Linked DNA regions of Homo sapiens: all the other regions are linked to region 2. Evidence: promoter capture Hi-C in human tissues and cell types (Jung and others, 2019). All regions are on one chromosome and are shown on one strand. Each heading gives the region's core, a stretch centred on a gene start or on the middle of the fragment in contact. The rest is flanking DNA. Distances are from core to core; before and after follow the strand shown. Region 1 overlaps CCDC149 (coiled-coil domain containing 149). Region 2 holds the start of DHX15 (DEAH-box helicase 15). Region 3 overlaps CCDC149 (coiled-coil domain containing 149).

What was found. Contacts are between HindIII fragments. The study calls those that stand out against the background at their distance.
Region 1: a fragment that was not itself captured here is called in contact with the fragment with the promoter of DHX15 in region 2 in 1 of the 25 tissues and cell types used here (lymphoblastoid cells).
Region 3: a fragment that was not itself captured here is called in contact with the fragment with the promoter of DHX15 in region 2 in 1 of the 25 tissues and cell types used here (dorsolateral prefrontal cortex).

What each region holds. Positions count from the first base shown.
Region 1 is chr4:24,892,015-24,896,261 of GRCh38, forward strand. All of the region lies in intron 1 of CCDC149 (coiled-coil domain containing 149), which reads right to left. Among named protein-coding and RNA genes, the nearest start is that of CCDC149, 19 kb to the right of the region's middle. The HindIII fragment of the contact is 5,835 bases long and covers 1-4,247 here.
Region 2 is chr4:24,582,128-24,586,408 of GRCh38, forward strand. DHX15 (DEAH-box helicase 15) reads right to left here and starts at 2,427. Exons shown (of 14, transcript NM_001358.3): 1 at 2,196-2,427. The coding sequence starts at 2,266. RefSeq lists silencers at 1,686-1,735, 1,936-2,015, 2,026-2,145 and an enhancer at 2,326-2,865. The HindIII fragment of the contact is 10,024 bases long and covers 1-4,281 here.
Region 3 is chr4:24,844,810-24,849,679 of GRCh38, forward strand. The region is part of intron 4 of CCDC149 (coiled-coil domain containing 149); the gene reads right to left. Among named protein-coding and RNA genes, the nearest start is that of SOD3, 52 kb to the left of the region's middle. The HindIII fragment of the contact is 4,984 bases long and covers 1-4,811 here.

The DNA of each region.
Region 1 (4,247 bases), core at 184-2,683, 310 kb after region 2:
TCAAAAGAAAATTCAGTAGTCATCAGGATCATCATAAATAGTAGCGTCAAAATGGATTGTTAAATATATGTCCAGGCTGACCATTCCAAAAGGAGATGAAATTCAGAGGCAGAGAGACTTAAAAAGATAGAAGGCAGTGGATACTCCCAAGTAAGACCCGGGGTGTGAGTCAGAGTCCCCTCTGGATTCCAACTCCTGCCCTACCACTTCTAGCTGAAGGATCTTGGGCAAGGAAATCCATTGCTTGCTGAGCCTAAGATCTTTTATCTGTAAAATAAGGACTATGATAGTACCTACTTCATGGTACTATAGGTTTGTCAAAGGATTAAATGAGATAATGAAAAGAAGGCTTTTAGCCCAGTAACTGGCATGCAGCTGCCATTTACTTACAGCTTATATTCATCATCATCATCCACAATCATCATCTTCCTGGATAACATCAGCACTGGTTGCTGTCCACTTAAGTGGAAGGGTACAAAGACTATAGTAGTTAAAATAAGTCCTTGGGAAAGACCTACGAAGCCTGATGGGCTCAGATTTCAGGTATGACCATAGAAGCGTCAGCCAAAACACTGATGGCAGGCACTGTTCTGGGCAGTTTTTCACATTAGCTCATTTGATCCTCACAAGGAGGCCCTCTGAGGTAGGTACTATGAGGATCCCCTATATAAAATACTGTCCAGTGAGATGGAAGCAACAGTGTCTGAAACATTTCCTTTCCAATGTTTCAGACTTCTGAAACATTTCCTTTAAGGGAGGGGCACTGTCTTTGTCCATTTTTTGTTGCTATTACAGAATACCAGAGACAGGGCAATTTATTAAGAAAATAAATTTATTTCTCACAGTTCTGTAGGCTAGGAAGTCCAGAAGCATGACACCAGCATCTGCCAATGACTTTCTTGCTACATCATGACACAAATGAGGGAAGGCATCCCATAGTGAGTAAGCACTCCAGACAGAGAGAAAAGGGGGCTGATCGCCCTCATTAACAAACCTACTACCATGATAATGACATTAAATCCTTTCATGAGGGCAGAGCCTTCCTGACCTAATGACCTCTTGAATGTGCCATTTAGTAACACTGTCACGATGGCAATTAAGTTTCCATGTAAGTTGTGAAGGGGACATTCAAACCATAGCAGGTTCACTCTTGCCTATGTCTTCCTCCTTCTTGCCACATAGTGGTCTGCAAAGTGGAAAGCCTCACACATGGAATGATGAACCAGAAAAATGAAAGGTGGCTAGGTCTCTAACAGATTGTAAGCCAGCATGCCAGCCCTAAAATGCCTACCTCCAAATGTATTGCACTTCAGAAAAATATAAAGTTCAATATTATTTAAGCAATTATTAATTCTGGTATTTCATTAAAATTAATCCTAAATAAAATACCAACATACCCAAATATGTGGTATGAGGAAATTGGACACCCAATATTGTAAGACTTGTAATCCACTTCACAATCAGAACTCTGTGTCACCACTGACAGATGACATTGGCTATCTGAGACACAAAAGTAAGTAAGCAGTACATCAGGGCATTATGTAGTTAGGGTTTTAAGTAAGAGAATGTTTCCCTTCTAGCACAATCTAAAATACAGACTTTTTTTTTTTTTTTTTTTTTGAGATGAAGTCTCACTCTGTCAATCAGGCTGGAGTGGAACGGGGCAATCTCAACTCACTGCAACCTCTGCCTCCTGGGTTCAAGCAATTCTCCTGCCTCAGCCTCCCTTAGTAGCTGGGATTATAGGCACCCACCACCATGCCCAGCTAATTTTTGTATTTTTAGTAGAGACAATTGGCCAGGCTGGTCTCAAACTCCTGACCTCAGGTGATCCGCCCGCCTCGGCCTCCCAAAGTGCTGAGATTACAGGTATGAGCCACCACGCCCAGGCTAAAATCCAGACTTCTTAAAAATTAGTGCTTCAGTGTACCAGGTTGGTTGGTCCACTCATTCACTCATTCATTCCTTCATTCACTCATTTTGTGAGGCTGTGTTAGAATAGGAACAACACAGACTTCAGAATCAGAGAAACCTGGAGTTCAAATCCCAGCTCTGGCTTTCCTTGCATATTCCCTGATGTCTACTTATCTTTTAGCTGTACTGAAAGTCATATGTCAAGCATCCAGCACAGGACTCAAAGCATTAAAAAGTGCTCAATGAATGTTTCCTTTTTCCTTCATATAGGTTCCTGAATTGAAAATTACATTAAAAAATCTTCATGTGGTGGCTGGCACACTGCAAATGGAAACTTAATATAATTTTATTGCCATTAGTAATAATAATAAGAGTAGTGGTAGCAATCAGCATAGTGGTTGTAGTGATAGTGGTAGTAAAATAATCAAAACCTAAACTGAGAGAGGGTGAAGAGAGGCAGGTTTCCAAGTGTGCACTGTTAATGCCTACATAATCAAGACTCAGCTGTTCAGCACTGAGTGGGAGGGTATTTCTGGGAGACGGGTGGAGCTTTTCTCCTCCTTGTTGGTGTCTTCACAAATTCCAGCAATCAAAATAGTCATTTTCCTTCCTTGCCAATGTCATCTTAAAAGAACCTCTCTCTAAACCCAGGTGCTTAAATTGTCCAGTGAGTTTCTCTCCTCTTTAAGAAGAAGTTGAGGAATGGGACAAACAAGCACCTTAGTATTTGTTCTCCTGTAAACACCAGAGCAAAAGTATGTTCGAAAGGGCATCTCACAACGTGTGTTAGGATGTGAGATGCCCTTTCGAACATACACAGCAATGGTTATTAGGATGTTTAGCATAACACATGTATATTCAAAAAAACTAAGCAAGTCACAGAAGGCACAAGCAGGCCTTGAAGAAAAAAAATCTCAAAGTCGCTGACACCCCTGCAGCCTGTGCTAGAACCAAACAGAACCCCTCATGCCAGCCATTTAGGCTTTCTGATAGTGGGGAAAAATACAGCAGGTATTTATAAAACATAGGCTTAAAGTCCCATGCAGGCATGGTTTGTCAATACCTCAGAATCCCAAGTGGCCGCTCTGGCGATGATGATGATGATGACGACGACGATGACGACCATGATGGTGATGATGATGAGTTAATGACGTGGCAACTATCCACTACTTATGAATAAGTAGTGCTGACTAGGAATAAGAACACGTTATAAAAACAGCATATGATACTGGAAGTCAGAATAATGGTTACCTCTGGGTGAGGCAGGAGGGATATCTTGGCTCAGAAGGGCATAGGAAGCCTTCTGGGGAGCTGGGGATGCTCTAGAACTTGCTCTGGGTGGTGGTTACACAGGTATGTGCACATGTAAAAATGCACTGAGCTGTACACTTAAAATGTGTGCCTCTGCTGTCTACGTGTTAGCCTCGATACAAATAGTAAAACAGCATACACTATAAATTCATTTTTAGAAATTAGGGCATGGAAACATGGAAGATTACAGCAGTCAGCTCTGGGTAGTCAAATTGTAGGTGGCTTTTTTTCTTTTATATGTATCTGTATTTTCTAAATTTGGAGGGTGCAGTGAATTTACATTGCTCGGTGTTTAAAGTTAAAATCCACTGTTACCCAAGGCATTTCTCATCTCTAGATAACACCTTCAGTCATTCACTTTCTTCTCAAACCTTTCCTCATTCACAGGCTCAGGCAGTCTGGGGCATGTCCCTCATGGCTGCCTGAGGAAATTCTTTACAATGGGCATGGGGTGGGGTGGTGAGTCTGAGGTGTTACTAGATTATCTCACTTTCTTGGAGCCTCTGCTCAGACAGGACTGGGTCACCTGGTGCACCTGTCTTCAGGCTCCCACAACAGAGGGGCTATGAGACCATCCCTTCAGGATGACCTGACCCCACTCTTGAGGACTCCTTAGCCCACTGTTGCTCAATTTCCAGCCTATACTGAAGTCTGGGCAGGAATCTAGAACCAGACCCCAAAAGTCTCCTTTTCAGCTCACATTCTTGGGTTTAGATCAGGTTAGCAGAAGCAGAGATGAGGAAAGCGGTCTTGCAGCATGCAAGGGCTGCCGCCTCTTGTCTGGAAGTGAGCATGCAGGGCGCCTGAATCCAGGGTTCCCAGCACAAACCTGGGGTCCAGAGGGAAAAACATCCAACAGGAAGTTAAAACCGAGCTCCTCTTGCTTGCTTCTTGCTGAGTGACCATAAAGAAGGATGCTGAACTTCTGAGCATTTCACGAACACTCTGAATTACCATGTCTTTGTTTATATAATGAGGTCATTACCACCTGCTCAGTCTAATCCACAAGCTTGTTATGAGGG
Region 2 (4,281 bases), core at 1,177-3,676:
TATGAAAAAATTCTGAGGCCGATAAACACCTTAAGTCCACTGTTAAATAAAACCAGTTCAAGGATAAATGGCACTCAAATGACATAGAAATGAGTATAAAAACTTCCCTCTACTATTTCTTATAACTTGGGCATTATTCCAAAGATGAACTCTCCTTTATCCATAGGCAAATTCTAAATAATATACAAGGGAATCATAAAGCTACCATTAGACTCCAAAAGTCAACCTTTTTACTAAGGATATCTGTTTTTGCAAGAGAAAGTAAACAATCGCACATACATATGGTGGGACCACTAATCCCAAGGGGAACATTTTAAATGGTGCACATATGCACAAATACAAATGAATTCATTCATTCCCTCCCAGAATATTTTGTTCCAATCTGACCTCCTGTGAGAGACATCAGTTCCAGATGACAGCAATTTATTTTTGCCTTAGAGAAATCAAGAACTAAGTGTTCCCTACTTTACCAACGCATTATAAATGTCATTAAAATAGGCTGTAATGACTCTTAACTACAGTACTGAACTGTGTGCTGCTGAGTGAAAATGACAAAGGCAGGGTTCCAGATCCTGCTGTAAACTTGCACAAGCCACCTTAACTCTGTTCTCCACTTCTCATTCCTTGATTGGAGCCGCGTATAGTCTTTTTTAAGTTGCTTCCAGCTCTGAGTCTGTGACATACAGCTCAGAGGTATTAACGTTTTGTGGGGCGTAATGGTGGGGGAGGGTGATAGCCTAAAGAGAGTCTGTCTTACAATGTCATTGTCTTTTTTACAATGCCTAATATCGTAAACTAAATAACTCACAAAATTAAAATGTGACATGCTTTTGCTTTCTATTGAATAATTCAACATATGGCAAAGCCTCAAAAAGTACACCCTATCCTGGCTTATACTCTACAATGACACTAAACATATCCCTGGAAATCAATTTCAATGAAGAACTTTAGCTGAAAAATTCAAAACAGCTATACAGGTGACTTGACACAGTGATTCTGTATCACAAGTACACAATAAAATGATACAATTATGCAAAGTATTTGGCTACTCGGGCTTTTGTGGGTTTTGCCTGAATTATCCAAACAGGTCTTTGTACTTCATCAATGAAAACACACAAGGGACAAGAAATGATTTTCACGAAATTGCTTAAATTAACTGCTAAATTCCTCTGTACCTTTAAGGAAAGGAATCTGGAACACCAAGAGTTTGTGTAAGTATTTCAACTCTCAACCTCCACATGGGCGGTGTTTCGCCATAAATACTAAAAACACGTTTTGAACATGATCCCTGTATTTCAAAAGCTACTTATGAAGAAAAGTGGGACATGCATAGAAAATAAATGATGAAAAAAAAAAACAATGCCTTCTAATCCCTCCCCATGGGACGATGTTCAGTAACCAGTTTTAACCAAAGCAGGAAATACAGGAGATGGCGGGAGCGTAGGCAGAGAGCGGAAGTTTGCTAGTATCTACTTTGAAGTGTTTGAATGGACCAAGGCACGCTCTCTCCCGCCAAACTATAAACTCAGTCGCCCCAAAACACCAGCCTTCCAGCCCATCAGGTATATTACTCCACGTTTTCCTTTCTCCCGGCAGGTCCTCTACTCCCACCTCCCCCGAGAACTCCCTATTTGCTGGCTTCTCTCAACTCCCGCCACCCCCATCCCAGCCTACATTATGATCCACGCGCTGCTCTCACTTTCCGCCCTCCGCCTTTCCCGTCTGGAGTGCCTGGCCGCGCCCCCACCCAGGCCCTCCCCACGGCCCCTCTGGCTGGGAAGTGCCTGCTGCCCTTGGAAGCGAATACTCCCACCGCGCCCTCCCCCACCCTCTCCTCCGGCTCCAGGCCTTCCTCGGGAACCGAGGCCACGAGGTCCGCGGTTCACTCCCGCCCGACGCCCTCGCAAATGACTCCCGCTCGGTTCGGCCTGGGGGAGGAGGCGCCCTCATGGCTACTGCAGGCCTCTCCACCCTCCGGACTGGGCTGGGCAGCGGCCCCGTCGCACGCAACCCCCCGCGCCCTTGCCGGGCCGAACGGGCGCCGCGCTTCTCCTACCCGCCGCTAGTGAACCCAGCCCAGAGAGAAACAAAGGCTCGGGCTCCAGGACCCGCTCGGCCAGGCCAGCCCCGGCCCGCTCCCTGCCAGGACCCCAACAAAGCCCGAGCTGCCGCCTCGCGCCCCCGGCCTGGCTTACCCATCGGTCCCCGCACGCTTCTTGCCAGAGGGGTAATCCTCCCCTAGGTCCAACCGGTGCCGCTTGGACATCCTCGCACTCTTCGAACGGGCAGTTATTAAGGAAGAAAGCTGGCTGCTGTATGGGCACAGTCGAGGACAGCCACTTAACTCTGGAGGACCCCCACCCCTCCCGCTACTACAGCCCACACGGTGCGGCCGGAACCAACAGCTAAAATGGCGGCGGCGACGAGGGCTGGGCCTGCGCGCGCGCGCGCTTCCGCAGCGTGCGTGCGTGCGAGTGTGCGTGTGAGCGAGGTGCGCGCGCACGACGCCCAAAGGCGGGAACTCCTGTCCCGCCCGCTGCCTCATTGGTCCGACCTTTCTTGGGTCTCCTCCCTCTTCCTGTAGCTTTCCCCTCCTCGGAGCGGCTGTTAGGAAGAACCTGAAGGCCTTCACTTTCCATTTCAGGCTATCCTTGCCCCTCTGAGTCAAGAAATTGAGAAAGTCTAGTCCTAGTTAGGAAATCCTATTCATTTCTATTACCCCGGCTTTAAGGGAATCTCAGACCCAGAGAGGTTGAGAAACGAATGAAGATCGTACAGCTAATAAGTGGCAGAGCCGGGATTGGAACCCAGCTATTTAGTAACTCCAGATCTGGAACTTGCGGCCACTGCGCTACCCTCAGTTGCAGTGAGGGGCCGCGCGATGGTTCACGCCTGTAATCCCAACGCTTTGGGAGACCGAGGCGGGTGGATCACGAGGTCAGGAGTTCGAGACCAGCCTGGCCAACACGGTGAAACCCCGTCTCTACTAAAAATACAAAAATTAGCTGGGCGTGGTGGCGTACGCCTGTAATCCCAGCTACTCGGTAGGCTGAGGCAGGAGAATCGCTTGAACCTGGGAGGCGGAGGTTGCGGTGAGACGAGATCACACCAGTGCACTCCAGCCTGGACGACAGAACAAGACTCCGACTTGAAAGAAAAAAAAAAATCAATTGCAGTGAGGAAACTGAAGTGAGAAAATGTTAAGGCTTGTCATGATCTATTTTGCCCTTTTCTTGCCCAGCACGGACACCATGCACCCAAGCTATAGATGTTTTTAACTAGAATACAGAGAATTCGCAGTGAGGGCACAATTTGCTTTTTTGTTTTTTGTTTTTCTGTGCCTATTAATGCACTTTCGCAGTGTTAAATAACACCCTGCAAGGTAGTTGTTATTTTGTAGACGTAGACGCAAAGGCTGAGGAAGGTTACATCTCCTAGCCATAAGGGCTGTACCTAAAGCCATAACAAGGAGGTGGGGCAAGATGACTCTAAGGATTTTTGTGGATCTCTCCCCCTAGAATATGTCTGCTTCCTCAGTTGCATTTGTTCCCAGAAGAAATGCACAAGAAAAGATCTGTGGACCATCTGCAGCAGGGTGATCTCTGTTGTTCATGGAATGGCTTGGTTTGGCTGCCCTGGAAGACCATACTCTGGTTCTTATCCAAATCTCAGGACTGCAATTGCTAGGATTAAATGCAACTTAAATATTGCAACTGATGAGGGGTTTGTGTGTTTGTTTTGAGACAGTCTTGCTCTGTCGCCCAGGCTGGAGGACAGTGGTGCAATCTCAGCTCACTGCAACCTCCGCCTCCCGGGTTTAAGCCATTCTCCTGCCTCAGCCTCCCTCCTAGCTGGGATTATAAGCGCCCGCCACCACGCCCGGCTACGCGCCCGGCTAATTTTGGTATTTTTAGTAGAGACGTAGAGACGAGGTGTCGCCATGCTGGCCAGGCTGGTCTTGAACTCCGGACCTCAAGTGATCTGCCCACCTCGGCCTCCCAAAGTGCTGGGATTACAGGCGTGAGCCACTGCACCCAGCCAGCAATTGGTAAGGAGGGTTTTTATTTTTTTGTACCAAATCCACATTGGAAAGTCAACACAAAGAAAAATGAGTATATTTTTCACTTGTGAAATATTCAGTACAACTTTCTATCCTAAATGTACCATAGTCCCTACTTTGTCCCTGGTTTTGCTTTCACAGTACAGTAAGATATTCTGAGAGAAAGACCACATTCACATAGCTTCTATTACAGTATAGATTCTCCTTGACTTATGATGGGG
Region 3 (4,870 bases), core at 1,070-3,569, 260 kb after region 2:
AGTGGCCCACAGTGCCCTGGGCCCAAAGCTTTTGGCCAGGTAACACTTAGCACTAATGTGCCATGCCATGCACTATCCTAGGTGCTGATCCCCATTCACCCATTTAAGTCCACCAAGCACCCTTGGCAGGTATTGTTGCTATCCTTATTTGCACATGAGAAGCTGAGACATAGAGAAGTGGAGGAACTTGCCTATGTCACAAATCTTATAAATGGCAGTCAGGAATTGAGCCCGGCAGTTCAGGGCTCTGAAGTCTATGCTGCGTTGCCTCTCTTCACAACCGTGGCAACAATACCTGCACAGCAGCTCCCCTGGAGAATGTGCTCTATGTCAAGTGCTTTATAGAACTTTCTTTATTTAATCCTCACAAAAGGCAAACGGCATGCCTTCCCGCACCAAGCCCCTGACACCCTAAGCTCGCTCCCCTCACAGGGTCTTTGGACTTCACACCCCATGTCCCTATATCTGACCCTTCCCACCACACTTCCTTCAGGGCTCTGTGTCACGCACATGCGCAGAGGGCCTTCCCTGACCACCTGATACAAACAGCATCCCTGCCCCACCTGGGCTGCACTCTCTAGCCCCTTATCCTGCTTTAGTTTTTTACTTAGCACGTATCACCTCCTGACATATTATACCGCAGTTCATCAAATATAAGACTCCATCAACTTTAAGAGCCACCACTGTGCACCTCTAAAAAGAATAAAAAGTGCCAGTCGTAACTACACAATACCGACTGTACCAGAGATGTCCAAATGTGAAAAACTGTGCATCTTGGAATCTGTGAAATATGATTTATTTGCTTACTGTCCATCTGCCTCCACTAGAACGAAACTCCCATGGGAGCAGGGACTCATTGATATTGTTTGCTGTTAGCCCTAGACCAGTCTGTCCTCAACAAATACATGTTGAAATGAATTGACCGAACCAGCCTCCATGAGGCAAGTACTACTGCTATCCCCATTGTACAGATGAGAACAACTAAGGCACGAAGAAGTCAAGCAATTGTCCCAAGATTACACAGCTAAGAAGCCCCTGAATCACTGTCAGATAGTTCAGCACATGTTGCTCCCAGAGCCAAAATCTTTAGTGTCCCATCAAGCAGTTTTAAAGAAGCTCTGATTTATTTTCATTTTAGTGTGTAATTTGGATATGGTGTATGATAAAATAAGTCTTGGGCAGAGATATCTTTCAGAATCAGTTCTCCACTAGGAAGTGTAATTATGTCCACAGTCTATGGGATGAATATCTGAAAACCATGCTGTTTTGGTCACGTGGTCTACCCAGACTATGAGCTCATGTAAGCCATGACAGGCTCAAATGAGGTATCGGAAGACCAAGTGTATCCAATTCACTTATGAATAAAACATTAGACACTGCTGAACTAGACTGGCCGCTTGCTGGACTCGCTGAGCATTGCCTATAGTTCATAATCAAGATCCCAGGTAGAGCAAGACATGATAGGGCAGGGAGGTGGGGTGCGGTGAAGGGCCCTTCTCACTCATTGTAATTCCTCATAATTAATTTCTATAGTGCCCCAAGGCGAGAGCTTTTCATTAGAGTGCCATCTTTACTTCAGTTTCTTGCAGGCTAGGACATCTCTCTGCTCCTTTTGAAGCATAAAGTGAAACAGCTTCCAAAGAGCTCTCTGATCCCTCATCCTGGACCATGACAAACATCCACAGCTGAGCACTCCTTTTTAACGAAGTGTACCTTAATTAGTCACTTGCACACTCATTGGTCTGTCTTTATTGGCCTGTAGCTGTATCTTAATTGGTTTGCTCACCAAATTCATCCAAAAGTCCCACGTCAATAGAGGTATGTTCACAGAAGGTCTCTATCATTTCACGGCACCAATGACAGATAAAACAGAGGTACCTAAAGACCTTCAGCTGGTATAACATAAAGCTCATTATTAAGGGCAAAACCCTGTGTTTATGCAATATCACAACAGCTAAATTTAAATTTGCCAGCAGGGGCCCAGGAAGTGTAAATGTGTGACATTGGTAGGAGCATTTGCCTACCGCAAACTTCCTTGCTTTTGAATACATCGCACTGTATTATTGGTCCTCTGCATGAAAGTACCATAATCTTTAAAGTAAACAGACAAGAAGACCAACTGCCATCTGTCCCAGTGGGAACATGAATTGCCGCTTCTGGCATATCCTATTAGGTGCTTATTCCACAAGGAGCACACAAAATGCAAGAAAGTTCCCAGGAGCTTGGCACCAAAGCAATAATGCTTGATGCTGGCGAAGTCGAGGCTGGTGATCAGGAGGGCTGACTTTTGGGGATCCATCTGCCACATGCCAGGTGTCTCACCAGGATCATTGTCTCTACTTGGGGGGACACATCTAGTTCACTGGAAATAGCTGATCAATAGAGAGGAAGATCTTAAGATTTCTGGTGGAATTCTTGCACAAGTGGATTCTAAGTCAATATGGGCGCATGTTATGCTAAAGACAACAGCAACACTTACCCTCTGTTAAGTGCTTGCTAGGTGGTATGCACCATGCAACACCCTTTACAAACGATATTGCATGCAAGTCCATCCCTAAATCATTAAATCTCATTGTCCTGTTCTCTTTTCTTCTCAGACTAAGCACTGTCTGATGAAATTACTTACGTATTTTATTTTCTTATTATCTACTCCCCAACTAGAATATCAGTACCATGGGAGCTAGTACCCTGTCTTTCTTATCCTTTGATGTGTCCTCAGCTGCTTTGATGTGTCCTCAGATGCTAGAAAGTTAATTAGCATGTAGGAAGTCCCCAATTATGTGGGGACTAAATGATGTGGTGAATAAATGATTAAACAATTCGATGAGAGGCATTATTATTGCCACTTTACAGATGAGGAAACTGAGGCCTGGAGAGAAAACTGACTTGCCAAAGGCCACAGACAATAACTGGCAGAACGAGAACATAAACCTGGGTCTGACAATCTTAAAAGGTGGACCTCTTGGGCTGCACTACACTGCTCCACTTCACAGAGACAGGCTGGAGCTATCTTTTCCTAGAGTCCAAATATTTCCAAGTTCAGTGACTTCACTTTGGTAACCTGACATTTGTCATGGTACCAGTATTTATCACACAGACATTGGCAAAATGTTACAAGTCAGGCTTCTTTCAAATAGCTGGTTCAGGAGCACACCTCAGGGTATAGTAGTCCCCCTAATCCTTGGTATCAGTTACCTGAGGTCAACCGTGGTCTGGAAATATTAAATGGAAAATCCCAGAAATAAAAAATTCATAAGATTTATATCGTATGCCATTCTGAGTAGCATGATGAAATCTCGTGTCCCAGTCTGTCCCACCTGGCCCTGCTGGAGAGATACAAATCCTTCCTTTGTCCAGGGTCCATGCTGTCTACGCTACCCACCCCTTAGTCACTGAGTAGCCATTTCAGGTATCAGGTCAACTGTCACAGTATTGCAGTGCTTGTGTTTAAGGAACCCTTATTTTACTTAATAATGCCTCGGCCAGGCACGGTGCTAACATCTGTAATCCCAGCACTTTGGGATGCCGAGGTGGGTGGATCATGAGGTCAAGAGATCGAGACCATCCTGGCTAACATGGTAAATCTCCGTCTCTACTAAAACTACAAAAATTAGCTGGGCGTGGTGGCGCGTGCCTGTAGTCCCAGCTACTCAGGAGGCTGAGGCAGGAGAATCGCTTGAACCCGGGAGGCGGAGGTTGCAGTGAGCTGAGATTGCACCACTGTGCTCCAGCCTGGTGACAGAGTGAGACTCCATCTCAAATAAATAAATAAATAAATAAATAAATACAATAAATAATGACCCCAAACACAAGAGCAGTGATGCTGGCAACTTGGACATGCCAAAGAGAAGCCACATACTGCTTCTTTTAAGTGAAAAGGTGAAAGTTCTCGACTTAAGGAAAAAAAAAATCATATGCTGAGGTTGCTAAGATCTGCAATAAGAACCAATCTTCTATCCATGAAATTGTCAAGAAGGAAAGAGAAATCTGTGCTAGTTTTGCTGCCGCACCTCAAACTACAAAAGCTACAGCCACAGTGCATAAGTGCTCAGTGAAGATGGAAAAGGCATTACATTCGTAGGTAGAAGACATGAAGAGAAATGGGCTCTGATTGATGGCAACCGAGAGCTGCACTAACCCAGGTTTCAGGCATCCACTGGGGGTCTTGGGAAGTATCCCCCAGATAAGAAAGGACTGCTGTCTTTGTGATTCCAATGTCCTCTGCTAGTTCTGCTGTTTGACCTACTAATCCTTAAATTCTCCGAGACCCCTTTTTTCCTCCTGATCCCCTTTCCCTGAATCCACTCTTTTCTTAACGCCCAGAAGAGGAAGCAGGCCAACCTCTGCGGCAGACCAAGGGGAGCTGCCACTGTCTCTGTGGCCCCAGCACTGCCTGAGTCTTTCCTCATTCCTTATAGACTGACACTCTGAGAGCCCTGGGCAACGTGCAAAGCTTTTCGAGGGTAATGCGTGGCTTTGTGAGCCCTCCTTTTCCCAGAGGGCTCCTCTAACCTTGTTAATCTTTAAGAACTGTAATTTTTAAGGAAGGGGATGGTATCCAGTAGGTTTCCCTTTTCACATCTCTCATCTGGTTTGGCTTGGAAGTTTGTGTTAGTTTGGGAGCCTAAGAAATTCCTGCGCACTGGACAGAGATAGCAGGAGGTAATCAATCACACAGGCTCCCCCCATCACAGGACGCCCATGTTGGCACAAGAACGCTGCCCCCTGCCCCATGTGAGAGCTAAGCTGCTTGGAAGCCAGGGTGGCAACAAATCTTTCAGGAGGCTATTTGGAAATGCTTTATGGCCCATAGGGTTACAAGGCTCTAGCTGAACAAATGGAAAAATTAGTCTACCCTAAAATATCCAAG